Linked DNA regions of Homo sapiens: region 2 is linked to region 1. Evidence: promoter capture Hi-C in 16 types of primary human blood cells and fetal thymus (Javierre and others, 2016). All regions are on one chromosome and are shown on one strand. Each heading gives the region's core, a stretch centred on a gene start or on the middle of the fragment in contact. The rest is flanking DNA. Distances are from core to core; before and after follow the strand shown. Region 1 holds the start of SULT2A1 (sulfotransferase family 2A member 1). Region 2 overlaps PLA2G4C (phospholipase A2 group IVC).

Region 1 (7,504 bases), core at 2,467-4,966:
GTGCCACTGCACTCCAGCCTGGGCAACTGAGCACGAGACTCCGTTTCAAAAAAAAAAAATTTTTTCACAATTTAAAAAGTACAGGCCCGTCATTTTGCAGACTGTCCCTCATTTGGGGTTCATATAATGTTATCTCACTAATATATTCAGGCCTAGAGTTTATGTTTAAAATATGGCCACATAGAAAGGGAAGAGGGAGAAAAGTCAAGTGACCTCTGGTGACCAAGGTCAACATCATTAGTGCCAGGTCATGTTGCTAATAAGTCCCCTTGATATGGTGTGATGATCATGGTATTTTACCTCTGTGACCTTCCTCTCCAAAACCCATGAACTCATTTGTTGGATGAGAAAACCTGCAATAAATCCCAAAGGAGGAACATTGTACAAAATGCCTCACCAGTGTTCTTCAAAACCATCAAGGTCATCAAAAATGAGGAAAGTCGGCCAGGCGCAGTGGTTCGCACCTGTAATCCCAGTACTTTGGGAGGCCAAAGTGGGCGGATCACCTGAGGTCAGGAGTTCGAGACCAGCCTGGCCAATATGGTGAAACCCCGTTTCTACTAAAAATGCAAAAATTAGCCGGGTGTAGTGGCGCGTGCCTGTAATCCCAGCTACTCGTGAGGCTGAGGCAGGAGAATCACTTGAACTGGGGAGGCAGAGGCTGCAGTGAGCCAAGATTGTGCCACTGCACTCCAGCCTGGGCAGCAGAGCAAGACTCCATCTCAAAAAAAAAAAAAATGAGGAAAGTCTGAGCAACAACTGTCACAGCCAAGAGGAGCCCAAGGAGACAGGATGAGTGTATGTCATGTACTATACAGGATGGGATTTTGGGGCAAAAAAAGGGCATGAGACAGTGAGCCAGGATCATGCCACTGCACTTCAGCCTGGGCAACAAAGAGAGAACTCTGTCAAAAAAAAAAAAAAAAAACACGAGCATGAGATAAAAACTAAGGAAATCCAAATTAAGTATGGACTATGGGAACTCTCTGTACTCTCTTTGCAATTTTTCTGTAAGTCTAAAAGTGCCCTAAAAAATGAGGCGTATTAAAAATATTTTTTTCCTGTTTGGGAAGAGTTTAGAAACTGGAAATACTAGATTCAGGAGAAGGGCAGACTTGCTTGATAAGGGACCGATGTTTGTGCAGTAATTTGGAGTGTGGTTTGTTTTTGAATCTTTAATTAAATCCTGGGATTGGCCGGGCGCAGTAGCTCACACCTGTAATCCCAGCACTTTTGGAGGCCGAGGCGGGTGGATCACGAGGTCAGGAGTTTGAGACCAGCCTGGCCAACATGGTGAAACCCCATGTCTACTAAAAGTACAAAAATTAGCCAGGCGTGGTGGTGGGCGCCTGTAATCCCAGCTACTCAGGAGGCTGAGGCAAGAGAATCGCTTGGACCCAGCAGGCGGAGGTTGCAGTGAGCCCGAGATCATGCCATTGCACTCTAACCTGGGTGACAAGAGCAAGAGTCCATCTCAAAACAATAAATAAATAAATAAAATTAAAAAGTAAAACCTGGGATTATATATCGCTGATAGATATTCACGCTTGAACCACAGTTACTATAAAATGCAAAAATTCTTAATACTGTTATTCTTTGCACTTTTTCTTAATCATTTTATATATATGCATATATATATGCGCATATATATATGCATATATATATACATATATATCTTGTTTAGGTTGTTTTGTACAGATGTGGGCCACCATTGCAACAAAATAAATTCTTTTTGCTCTAAAATATTTATAAAGAAAATACTTAAATGTGATGTACAGGGTGGTAATAAGGGAAAAATCAAGTATTATAAACAAGAATGAAGGCTTTTTTTCTTTCCTTTTTTTTTTTTTTTTTTTTGAGACGGAGTCTCGCTCTGTCGCCCAGGCTGGAGTGCAGTGGCGAGATCTCGGCTCACTGCAAGCTCCGCCTCCCGGGTTCATGCCATTCTCCTGCCTCAGCCTCCTGAGTAGCTGGGACTACAGGCACCCGCCACCACGCCCGGCTAATTTTTTGTATTTTTAGTAGAGACGGGGTTTCACCGTGTTAGCCAGGATGGTCTCGATCTCCTGACCTCGTGATCCGCCCGCCTCGGCCTCCCAAAGTGCTGGGATTACAGGCGTGAGCCACCACACCGTGCCCAGACCAAGAATGAAGGTTTTTGTAAAGATTTCTGTTCAGTGTTTTGCAAGGTAAAATTCTAGGCACGTTTTCCCTGAAGTTATGTGTATGTGAGTATTCTCATTCTTCCCAACTTGCCTTTGAAGAGTGAAAAAACATTATTATCAAGTAGACTTCTATTCAGCTTTTGCTCCTGCCCTGCTGTTTATCCCTTAAGAATGAGTTTCTTGGACTTTCCCAATATGTGATTTTTTTTTCCCATTTAGAATGGTGATTTTAAATGTGTGAGTGCATGCATTATCTTATCTCAGATATTTGCACCCCCAATCCACCCCCATCTCCCTAAAGCTAGAACACTGCCAACTGATCTGTTGTATAGGTCCTTTAGAAACACATAATTAGGCTGGGCGTGGCGGATCACAAGGTCAGGAGATTGAAACCATCCTGGCTAACACGGTGAAACCCCGTCTCTACTAAAAATACAAAAAATTAGCTGGGCGTGGTGGCGGGCACCTGTAGTCCCAGCTACTCTGGAGGCTGAGGCAGGAGAATGGCATGAACCCAGTAGGCAGAGCTTGCAGCAAGCCGAGATCGCGCCACTACACTCCAGCCTGGACGACAGAGTGAGACTCCATCTCAAAAAAAAAAAAAAAACAAACAAACACATAATTAACACTTAAGGTTGGGTGCTGCCAATTCTTTGTGAAAATCCAAATATTATTAAGGAAACAGGGAGATGCCACTACCTCTTGATTTTCCATCTAAAAACATACATGTTTATGCAAACAAATCTTTCCATATTCATAGTGACTTTTCAAGTATTTGAGTCTAAAGATTTTCATCTCACATTTTTATACCGTTTAAATTGTTCACAATTATTACATACACGTCAGCCATCAACTAAAGTTGTACTTTAAAAATTTACTACAATATATACACTGCTAATATTTGTACTTACTCTTTTTTTCTCTAGAGTGGAGGTATAATTGTGTGATACTTCAGAAATACAGATAAATGATTCAAAAAGTCTCAGGGAGAATAATGTTTCTTTGATCGTGAATAACTGATTAGTAATTCTTGCCTATATTTTCCTGAGAGCATATGACAAATGTTTCTAAGGTAACAAGATGAGAACAGATAAAGACTGTGTGGTCTTTTGGATTTGGAGAGACATATTTTAATTTTTAAATGCAGTTACAAATTATAATGTATTCATATTTGTACTTTCTGTTAAAATGCACGATTGCAGGATTATTTAGATTTTGTGTTTATGCTTGATGAAAAGCTTTGTTCTTGTTTTTAAGTTTGCACTCAAACCTTAAGAAATAAATTCACCCATATTATCAAAAAAAATATTTGTCCTCGTGTTTGTTATTCGATCTTGCAGTTCACTCTCAGGAACGCAAGCTCAGATGACCCCTAAAATGGTCTCTAGATAAGTTCATGATTGCTCAACATCTTCAATCTTTTGAGTATGGGTCACATTATACCTCTCTTTATCAGCAAGTAAACTTTACAACAAACATGTGACATGCTGGGACAAGGTTAAAGATCGTTTTATCCTTGCTGTAAAAGCTGATCTGCCTGTAGCTGCCACAGCCTCCAGCGGTGGCTACAGTTGAAACCCTCACACCACGCAGGAAGAGGTCATCATCATGTCGGACGATTTCTTATGGTTTGAAGGCATAGCTTTCCCTACTATGGGTTTCAGATCCGAAACCTTAAGAAAAGTACGTGATGAGTTCGTGATAAGGGATGAAGATGTAATAATATTGACTTACCCCAAATCAGGTAAGGAGGCAGAATCGTGAACTGAGAAAGGCTGTGGTTGTGTTCCTGTCCATTCAGTGCATGATTGGAGTTCTTCCTTTATGTCAGACAGTGTACAATGCTTTAAGGGGAAGAGAGGAATGCCTAATACCATTGACAATCAGAGAAAAGGATTTAGTCAGGAAATTACACAGTAGGATGAGTGTTCAGAGGGGTAATCTAAGGTATTAGGAGAATCCACAGGAGTGAATCCCAAGGCAAATTCAGGTGTTTGTTTGGTGGCAGTGGGAGGGAGGATGGCTGAGGATGACCAATGATGTCCTGAAAGAAGAAATAGCATTTAAATGGAAATGCAAAGAATGAGTATGAAATTACTTGGGGGGAGGGCTATTTTCAGATAGGAGAATCATCAGGGCAATGGCCAGGAACCACAAAAGAGCCAGGCAATCTCAAGGGGCTGAAAGATGAGGATCATATGTCTCTGGGAGTGGGGCTGTGGGTGGAGGGCGGTAAGAGCACTGCGGATGCGGTGAGGATTGAGGCTGAAGACATTGGAAGTGGCATGGCCCTGAGAGGCCAAGAGCAATGGGAACATAATAAGAGGGATTTCAGCAAATAGCCAAAAGATGGAAGCAACCCAGATATCCACTGACAGGTGAGTGAATAAACAAAATGTGGTATATAGCTATAATGGAATGTTATTCATCCTTGAGAAGGAAGAAAATTCTGATGCATGATACAACAGAGATAAACATCAAGGACATTATGCTAAATGAAATAAGCCAGTCACAAAAATACAAATAGTGTGTGATTCCACTTACATAAGGTACCTGGAGTCATCAAGTCCATAGAAACAGAAAGTACACTGGCGGCTGCCAGGGGCTGAAGAGAAGGGTAAATGGGGAGTCGGTGCTGGCTCTGCATAGAGTTTCGGTTTTGCAACACAAAAATCCTCTGGAGATTGGTTGAGCAGCACTGGGAATATACTTAACACTTAACACTACGAAACCGTAGGCTTAAAAGTGGTTGACAGGCTGGGCATGGTGGCTCATACCTGTAATCCCAGCACTTTGGGAGGTCAAGGCAGGTGGATTGCCTGAGGTCAGGAGTTCGACACCAGCCTGGCCAACATGGCAAAACCCCGTCTCTACTAAAAATAAAAAATTAGCCAGGCGCTGTGGCGCACGTCTGTAGTTCCAGCTACTCGGGAGGCTGACCAAGAGAATCACTTGAACCCAGGAGATGGAGGTGGCAGTGAGCCAAGATCATGCCACTGCACTCCAGCCTGGGTGACAGAGCAAGACTCTGTCTCAAAAAAAAAAAAAAAAAAAAAAAAAAGTGGTTGAGAGCTGGCTGCAGTGGCTCACGCCTACAGTCCCAGTGCTTTGGGAGGGCAAGATAGGCAGATTGCTTGAGGTCAAGCGTTCAAGACCAGCCTGGGCAACATAGCAAGGCCTGATCTCTACAATAAAATTTTTTCAAAAAATTAGCCCAGCGCGATGGCACATGCCTGAGGTCTCAGATACTTGCGAGGCTGAAGCAGGAGGCCGAAGTACAAGGATCACTTGAGCCCGAGTTCAAGGCTGCAGTGGGCTATAATTGCACCACTGCACTCTAGCCTGGGCTACAGAGGGAGACCTCATCGCTAAAAAAAAAAAAAAAAAAAGCCAGGCGCAGTGGCTCACGCCTGTAATCCCAGCACTTGGGGAGGCCGAGGCAGGCAGATCATGAGGTCAGGAGATCGAGACCATCCTGGCTAACATGGTGAAACCCCATCTCTACTAAAAATATATTAAAAAAAAAATTAGCCAGACGTGGTGGTGGGCGCCTGTAGTCCCAGCTACTTGGGAGGCTGAGGCAGGAGAATGGCATGAACCCGGGATGCACAGCTTGCAGTGAACTGAGATCGTGCCATTGCACTCCAGCCTGGGTGACAGAGCAAGACTCTGTCTCAAAATAAATAAATAAATAAATAAATAATAAAAAAATTAAGGTTGAGATGGTACTTTTTTTTGTTTTTGTTTTTGTTTTTTTTTTTGAGACTGAGTCTCACTCTGTTGCCCAGGCTGGAGTGCCATGGCACGATCTCGGCTCACCGCAACCTCCGCCTCCCAGGTTCAAGCAATTCTCTGCCTCAGCCTCCCAAGTAGCTGGGATTTTAGGCGCCCGCCACCATACCTGGCTAATTTTTGTATTTTTAGTAGAGACGGGGTTTCACCATCTTGGCCAGGCTATTCTGGAACCCCTGACCTCATGATCACTTGCCTCAGCCTCCCAAAGTGCTGGGATTACAGGCGTGAGCCACCATGTCCGGCTGAGATGGTACATTTTATATATTTTTTTCCTTCTTTTTCCAGGAACAAACTGGTTGGCTGAGATTCTCTGCCTGATGCACTCCAAGGGGGATGCCAAGTGGATCCAATCTGTGCCCATCTGGGAGCGATCACCCTGGGTAGAGAGTGAGATTGGGTATACAGCACTCAGTGAAACGGAGAGTCCACGTTTATTCTCCTCCCACCTCCCCATCCAGTTATTCCCCAAGTCTTTCTTCAGTTCCAAGGCCAAGGTCAGTGCATAATGGTTAAGACGTGTTTGATCAGTGCCTTTCAAACACTGATATGCCTATAAGTCATCTGGAGATCTTGCTGAAATGCATTCTCCTTCAACAGGTCTGTGTTGTTGAGACCTGAGATTCCGTATTAGGTGACACCTATGTGGCTGCTCCCAGAACTGTCCTTGAGTTCAAGGATATAGACCATTCCACAGATTACCCCAGCCAGATTTAAACCAGGGATAGGGTGAAAACACTAACCCAGAATCTTAGAAAACTAGGTTCTAAGTGCAATCAGAATGTATAGCCATATTATATACTAGATAACCGCCTTTGGTTGCCCTAAAAAATAATTAGCCAATCTGAATTCAACAAATGCCTCCTGCCACAGAAAAGACACAGAGGTGTTCCTATGGGAAGCAGCATGTTCATCAATCAATGCCTGTATCCAGGTTGACTGCCCCGGGGCCAGGACTGGGCTCTGTACACACTTCGTCTTACTGTGTGTAAATATGTGTTGATATCAGCAGCCACATGCATCTCCCATGGGGCAGAGGGGTGATCACAAGAGGGACAAGGCATATCCAGGACCTTGCATGGCTCAGACTGCTTCTAGAATTGTACTTTCCTGGAAGGTGTTTATAGGTGTGTGAATTATTATTATTATTATTATTTTGAGACACAGTCTCATTCTGTCACCCAGGCTGGAGTGCATTGGTGCGATCTTGGCTCACTGCAACCTCCACCTCCCCAGGTTCAAGTGATTCTCCTGCTCCAGCCTCCTGAGTAGCTAGGACTAGAGGTGTGCGCCACCATGCCTGGCTAATTTTTGTATTTTTAGTAGACACAGGGTTTCACTATGTTGGCCAGGCTGGTCTCGAACTCCTGACCTCGAGTGATTCAGCCTCCCAAAGTGCTAGGATTACAGGCATGAGCCACCATGCCTGGCCCAAAGGACAAAGTAATGTCTCTGAAATGTGTCCATGATCTTGGGTGTTGTATATGGATAATATTGCTATATATCTATGAATGTAGCTTAATTTATGAATTCATTCTCCTGTTAAT
Region 2 (7,504 bases), core at 3,455-5,954, 210 kb before region 1:
ATCTCAAGGCTCAGAAGCCCCCAGTGTGAATGGTGTTTGTCTGTTTGTTTGTTTGAGACAGAGTTTTGCTCTTGTTGCCCAGGCTGGAGTGTAATGGCACGATCTCGGCTCACTGCAACCTCTGCCTCCCAGGTTCAAGTGATTCTCCTGCCTCAGCCTCCCAAGTAGCTGGGATTATAGGCATGCACCACCACGCCTGGCTAATTTTTGTATTTTTAGTAGGGATGGGGTGTCACCATGTTAATCAGGCTGGTCTCGAACTCCTGACCTTAGGTGATCCACTCACCTCCGCCTCCCAAAGTGCTGGGATTACAGACGTGAGCCACCACGCCCGGCCATGAATGTTTTATCTCTCTCCTCGGTGTGGATCCTTGTGCTGTTTTCTCACCAGAGCAGATACAGCTGACTCCGTCCTTTCCATAAGCCCCACAAATTCAGTCATTCCCAGACCTAGAAATCACCCCCTCCTCATTTTCATCCTTTGTGCTCTTCTACATCATCCCCAGACCAGGTCTCCCAGTCTCCTGGGAGACTCTTGTAATTAGTTCCTCACTGGCCCGCCCATCCCAAGCTGTCCACCTCCTTCCCTGGCTACCTGATGGAAGTTTCCAGGATGAAAATCTGATCATGTCATTTTCTTCCCTGGAATATTCTAATGACTCACATTGGAATCATGCATTAGATTTATGCCCACAGACAATCCTCCATGCAATCGTGTGGCTACACTCTTCCCTTGCACTCCAGGATTCCATGGAGTTGCAGCCACAATGAGATGGAAGAGAGAGGCAGGGCTGAGGGTTCAAGCTCTGGAAAATATTGGAAACAGGCTGCTGTGGAAGTTATGAGCTGCCACCAGCAGCGTAGACTCAGGTCTGAGGATGAGATCCCCAGTGGTTTCTGATACCACACAGTCCATCTCTAACATTCTCCTGTCATGGTTGTAATTCCTCATTAATAGATTTCTTTTTCCTGCATACCTGCTACATTCCTGGTTCTGTGCTGGGACTCACTTGCCGTTGTATTTCCTCTGCAGAGACCTGGTTCGAGTTCACCCCTCACCACGCTGGCTTCTCTGCACTGGGGGCCTTTGTTTCCATAACCCACTTCGGAAGCAAATTCAAGAAGGGAAGACTGGTCAGAACTCACCCTGAGAGAGACCTGACTTTCCTGAGAGGTCAGCGCTGGGGTCAGAGGGGATTAAAAGGGGGTGGGAAGTGGAGGAGAGGCAAGAATTTTCCTTCTGAGGGTCTAGTTTGCCCAGCTCTTAAATTTCTTGGGGGAAAGAAAAGGACTTGGTAGGCTTCCAGAAAGAGGAATGGTGTATTCCTTCTGCTGAGTCTTCAGTGTCTCTCAAAGGTCTCCTTAATGCGGCAGATACCTGATATCCTATCAAACAATCCAGGAGAGGGAGCTTAATAGAGGGGCTCAAGTCCAGGGCTGTGGCTTCCAATAAGCAGATTCAGAATGTGTTTGGGATTACATGGTGCTTTGGGAGGCTGACCTGGGAGGATCCCTTGAGACTGGGAGTTTGAGACCAACCTCGGCAACATAGCAACACTGTGTCTCTACACAAGATTTAAAAATTAGCCAGGCATTGTGGCATGTGCCTGTGGTCCCAGCTACTCAGGAGGCTGAGGCAGTGGAAGGATCACTTCAGCATGGGAGTTCAAGGCTGCAGTGAGTTATGATCGCCCCACTGCACTCCAGCCTGGATGACAGAGAAAGATCTTGTCTCAAAACAAACAAACAAACAAACAAACAAACAAAAAACTAGAATGTGTTTTGGGCACCAGCAAAGCAAGGGGCATACAATTTTTTTTAAATGGGGTATTTCCAGAAAAAATTACAACAAAAACCAAAAACAAAACAGTCATAGTGAGTAAAATCAGAACTTGATTAAATGTCCTTGACTGTAGCTTACACACTGGTATCACTTTTAGTTGTGGCTTCATAATCTTCTCAGCATTCAGGGTCTGAAGGCATTACCCTGCTGGGCAGACAGCTCCCCTACATAGGACCAACCATGCCAGCTTGAGAAAGTCATTAATGTTACCTGAGCCTCGTTTTTCTCATAGGGAAAGTACTTACCTCAAAATGTGGGTGTGAGAGTTAGGTATGATCCACAAATAAAACACTCAGCCCAGTGTCCAGCACATGGTAGGAAATTAAGGATGGTTGACTCTCCATGATTTTAGCATACACTTTTGAGACACACTAGGAGCCTGATACTATTTTAAATGCAGGGGATTCAGTCATGAGCAGGACAGTGAAGGCTCATTCCCTAATGAAGTTTGCACTCCAGGGAAGGAGATGATGAATGAACACACACAAAAATAAGTATGTATTATAATGTCAGATCATAGTAAATGCTATCTTGAAAAATAATTCATGGTAAGGGACTGGAGAGTGACTACAGTATTATTTTTAATTGGTGGTCAGAGCTTCTGACAGGAGATGGCCTTTGAGCATGGACCTGATGAAAAGTGAAGCCATGCAGATATCTTAGAGGAAAAGCATCATGGACAGAGGGAAGAGCAAATGCAGAGACCCTGTATTAGTCCGTTTTCATACTACTATAAAGATACTACCCGAGACTGGGTAATTTGTAGACAAAGGAGGTTTAATTGACTCACAGTTTCACATGGCTGGGGAGGCCTCAGGAAACTTACAATCATGGCAGAAGGTGAAAGGGAAGAAAGAACCTTCTTCAAGTGGTAGCAGGAGAGAGAAGAGCAAGCCAAAGAAGAGCTGCCCAACACTTATCAAACCATCAGATCTCGTGAGAACTCACTCGCTATCACGAGTACAGCATGGGGGGATCTGCCCCCATGATCTGATTACCTCCCACCAGGTCTCTCCCTCAACATCTGGGGATTACAACTCGAGAGATTTGGGTGGGGACATAAAGCTTAACCATATCAGACCCTAAGCCAGGACCAAGTTTGTCTTACTCTAGAACCAATGAGAAGACCAGTGAGGCTGGAGCCTCCTGAATGAGGCTGAGAGAGAGGGCTAGAGAGGTAGGCAGGGTCCAGATCATATGGGACCCTGAAGGACACAGATGAAGTTTAGTTTGGATTCCAAGTGCGATAGGAGAGCCAGGGAGGCAGTTTAATTAGGGTGGTGACCGATTCAGTTTATATGGTAAAACATCTCACTCTCTCTCTCTCTCTCTGAGCATGGATTAGGGGTGGGTGTGTAAACTTAGAAGTTGGGAGCAGTTGAGAAGCTAATGGTCCTGGTGACAGATAATGGCAGTTTAAGGTTGGGTACCAGAATGGATATGGGAGGGAAGTGGATGGACTCTGGAAACCTGGAGATGGATGAAGAAGAATTACACCTGGATTGGATGTGGAGAGTAAGGAGAATCAGAGATGACATCAAAGGTTCCAGCTTCTGCAACCTGGTAGATGGAGGGGTGTTCTCAGGGGAGGAGAACAAGGTAGGATGAAGGGGATCTTCCCCTTTTCTCTGGTCTGGACAGACGGGGTCCTTCACATTGCCAAGCCTGGCTCCTGTCTCCTATCCCCACCATCTCTTTGCTAAATCTGGTCTTGGGCATCAGAGATTTTGAAATTGTCACTCCCAGGTACTCCCTATAACATTATTATTTCCTTAGATGTATGTATCACCTACTGAAGGGATTCTGTACGTGTATTTTATCCCTCCCCTCACACACCAGGGTGCTTTTTATTTATTATTATAAAATAAACATAACATAAAATTTGCCATTTTAACCATTTTAAAGTGTCAAGTACAGTGGTATAAATACAATACATTCATAATGTTGTGCAACCATCACTGCCATCCATCTCCATAACACTTTTCATCTTGTAAAACTGGAACTCTACGCCCATTGAATACTAAGTCCCTGTCACCCCCTCCCTTAGCCCCTGACAACCACAATGCTACCTTCTGCCTCTACGATTTTGACTACTCTGAGTATGACATGTAAATGGAATCATGCAGTGCTTGTCTTTTTGTGTCTGTCTGATTTCACTGAGGAAAATGACTTCGAAGTTCATCCATGTTGTACCATGTGTCTGAATTTCCTTTCTTTTTATGGCTGAATCATATTCCATTGTACGAATATACCACATTTTGCTTATCAATTCATCCATCGATGGACACATGGATTGCTTTCACCTTTTGGCTGTTGTGAAGGAACCTGCCATGCACATGGGTCTATGAATATCTCTTTGAGACCCTGCTTTCAATTCTTTTGGGTATATACTCAGAGGTAGAATTGCTGGATCATGTATGTGGTAATTCTACTTTTAAAATTTTGAGGCCAGGTGTGGTGGCTAATGCCTGTAATCCCAGCACTTTGGGAGGCCGAGGCGGGTGGATCACCTGAGGTTGGGAGTTGGAGACCAGCCTGACCAACATGGTGAAACCCCATCTCTACAAAAAATACAAAATTAGCCGGGCATGGTGGTGCATGCCTGTAATTCCAGTTACTCAGGAGGCTGAGGCAGGAGAATCTCTTGATCTCGAGAGGCGGAAGCTGCAGTGAGCGGAGATCGCGCCATTGCGCTCCAGCCTGGGCTATCTCAAAAAAAAAAAAAATTTTTTTTTTGAGGAACGACCATACCATTTTCCACAGTGGCTGTACCATTTTATATTCTGCCCAATGGTGTCCCAGGTTTCCAATTTCTCCACGTCCTCATCAACACTTATTGTTTTCTGGGGTTTTTTGGATACCAGCCATCCTAATGGGTGTGTCTATTTTTTTTTTTTTTTTTTTTTTTTTTGAGATGGAGTCTCACTCTGTCTCCCAGGCTGGAGTGCAGTTGTGTGATCTCTGCTCACTGCAACCTCCCAGGTTCAAGTTATTCCCCTGCCTCAGCCTCCCAAGTAGCTGGGACTATAGGTGCATACCACCAGGCCTGGCTAATTTTTGTATTTTTTAGTAGAGATAGGGTTTCACCATGTTAGCCAGGCTGACTTTAAACTCCTGACTTCAATTGATCCGCCCACCTCAGTCTCCCAAAGTGTTAGCATTACAGGCGTGAGCCACCGTGCCTGGCTGATTATTCATTTTTTATGTCTCCCTGTATCATATACAAATGTGTTTGGCTAAAAGTCACTAACCAACCACAGTGCCCCGAGGACATGTGGGATTAATTTTCTTACAAAAGAAAAAGACAGACTGAGCACCGTGACTCACAGCTGAAATCCCAGCACTGTGGGAGGCCGAGGCGGGCAGATCACTTGAGGTCAAGAGTTCAAGACCAGACGGGCCAACATGGTGAAACCCCGTCTCTACTTAAAAAATACAAAAATTAGCAGGGCGTGGTGGTGCATGCCTGTAATCCCAGCTAGTCGGGAGGCTGAAGCAGGAGAATCACTTGAATCTGGGAGGCAGAGGTTGCAGTGAGCCGAGATCACACCACTGCACTCCAGCCTGGGCAACAGAGCGAGATCCCATCTCAAAATAAATAAATAATACAAAGTTAGGTGGCTGGTGACATTGGTTTAGCTGTGCAACATTAAGCAGAAGGACCCAGGTTTATTCTAGATTTTCTGCTCCTCCATCCTTAGCATATTAAGTCACCCTCATGCTGAACTCCTCCACACCACGGGATGGCGGCTGCATCCAATGAAGCTGCAACTTTTTTTTTTTTTTTTGAAGTCAGGGTCTCTCTCTGTCACTCAAGCTGCCGTGCAAAAGCACAGTCATAGCCCAATACAGGTCTTGAACTCCTGGCCTCAAGTGATCTTCCTGCCTCAGCCTCCCAAGTAGCTGAGACTAGAGTTGCATGCCACCATACCTGGCCTGCTCCTTCTGAGAAGGAGAACAAGCACTTTGCAGAAGTCCCCCCAGCAGTGTGCATGGACCAGAGCTTGACCGTCCCCTAGCTGCAAGGGAGGCTGGGAAATATTTGCCCTTCCTGCCTGTGTGCTGAGAAGGGTTGGCATGGACAGGAGCTTGAAATGGCCTTGGGGTAGCCAGTCTACAGTGCCCGGCTGGCTCCACCCATAGAAGGTTCGTGAGGACAAGGACTTTATCTGTCTTGTTTACTGCTCTATTCCAACAGCCAGAAGAGTGCCGGGTGCCCACTAATTGCTTCATAAATATTTATGGAATGGAAGAAAGATCTTTCTTCCTGCTGCAGATCCCTGCAGTGCTTTATGCCAGTCTGCTGGTGCTTTGAATATCAAACATGACAGTCACGTGATGGAGAATGTTTGAATTTTATTGCTCTTTTCTTGGCAGGTTTATGGGGAAGTGCTCTTGGTAACACTGAAGTCATTAGGGAATACATTTTTGGTGAGTATTTGGGGAACAGAAAGGTCAAACCCTAGAGATATTTTATGCAAGGAGATTCACAGTACTTTTCCTACTCATGGCAGAAGAGAGACCTGTGTGTAATTGTTCTAGCAACTGCTTTTCCTGACATTTATTCTCATATAATTGGGCAGCCAGGATGACCACAGAGTGGATGAGAGTACAGACTCCCTTGGAAGGAATGTTGCTCTGGTACATGTAAGCTTTGTGACCTCCGAAAAGTTACTTAACCTCTCTGTGCCTCGGTTTCTGCCTCTGTGCCATGCGGGTGATAATAACAGTAGTTATGAATATTTGATGAGTTAATTCATTGAAAGCTTGTAGGACAGTGCCTGGTAGATAACGGCACTCAGTAAACATTAGCAATCATTACCTGGTCCCTCATTTAACATTTAACCCCTTTAATACCCTAAGAGGCAGACGCTTTTGTCCCTTCCATTTTGCTGAGATCCACCAAGTCGTGGGAAGGATGCGTGACTCACCCACACTGCTGGTCAGTGAGTGCAGACGCGGGGATCTATAGGAGAACTGGGTGGTGGATCTCTAGGGGAATAGTGTGGTGGTTCTGATCCAAAGCCTGTCTGCCTGGATCCACATCCCGGCTCTGCTTCTCCTGCACTGCTCACTCTGGAAAGCTGCTTAAATTCTCTGTGACCCAATTTCCCCTTCCTAAAATGGAGACAATAGTACGTAGTCGCAGTCTCGTATATTTGATGTGGGGTTTAAATGACCTCATGTATGTAAAATGCTTAGAGCCAAGCCTGACACATGGGAGTGTTTCATTACATGTTAATCTTATTTTTAGGATCATTACTGAGTTCACACCCTAAACCACTCGTCATTCATTTAATGTATATTCATGGGACCTCCTGTGTGCCAGGCACTGTCCTAGTTCTTACACTTTGACTTTTTTTGTTGTTTGTTTTTTTGAGACAGAGTTTTGCTCTGTTGCCCAGGCTGGAGTGCAGTGGTATGATCTCAGTTCACTGCAACCTCCACCTCCCAGGCTTAAGCAACTCTCCTCCCGAGTAACTGGGACTACAGGCGCGCACCACCGTGCCTGGCTAATTTTTGTATTTTTGGTAGAGACAGGATTTCACCATGTTGGCCAGGCTGGTCTTGAACTCCTGACCTCAAGTGATTCACTGCCTCAGCCTCCCAGTGTGCTAGGATTACAGGCATAAACCACCACGCCCGGGCTGATGTTGTTCT

Evidence for each region. Contacts are between HindIII fragments. The CHiCAGO score rates a contact against its expected background, and 5 or more counts as called.
Region 2: a contact is called between a fragment that was not itself captured here and the fragment with the promoter of SULT2A1 in region 1, in 1 of 17 cell types (M2 macrophages). The highest score is 5.0, in M2 macrophages.

The regions. Positions count from the first base shown.
Region 1 is chr19:47,882,527-47,890,030 of GRCh38, reverse strand. SULT2A1 (sulfotransferase family 2A member 1) reads left to right here and starts at 3,716. Exons shown (of 6, transcript NM_003167.4): 1 at 3,716-3,909; 2 at 6,246-6,454. The coding sequence starts at 3,774. The HindIII fragment of the contact is 7,780 bases long and covers 3,406-7,504 here.
Region 2 is chr19:48,089,134-48,096,637 of GRCh38, reverse strand. PLA2G4C (phospholipase A2 group IVC) reads left to right here. Exons shown (of 17, transcript NM_003706.3): 7 at 1,034-1,174; 8 at 6,221-6,274. Among named protein-coding and RNA genes, the nearest start is that of PLA2G4C, 18 kb to the left of the region's middle. The HindIII fragment of the contact is 3,587 bases long and covers 2,911-6,497 here.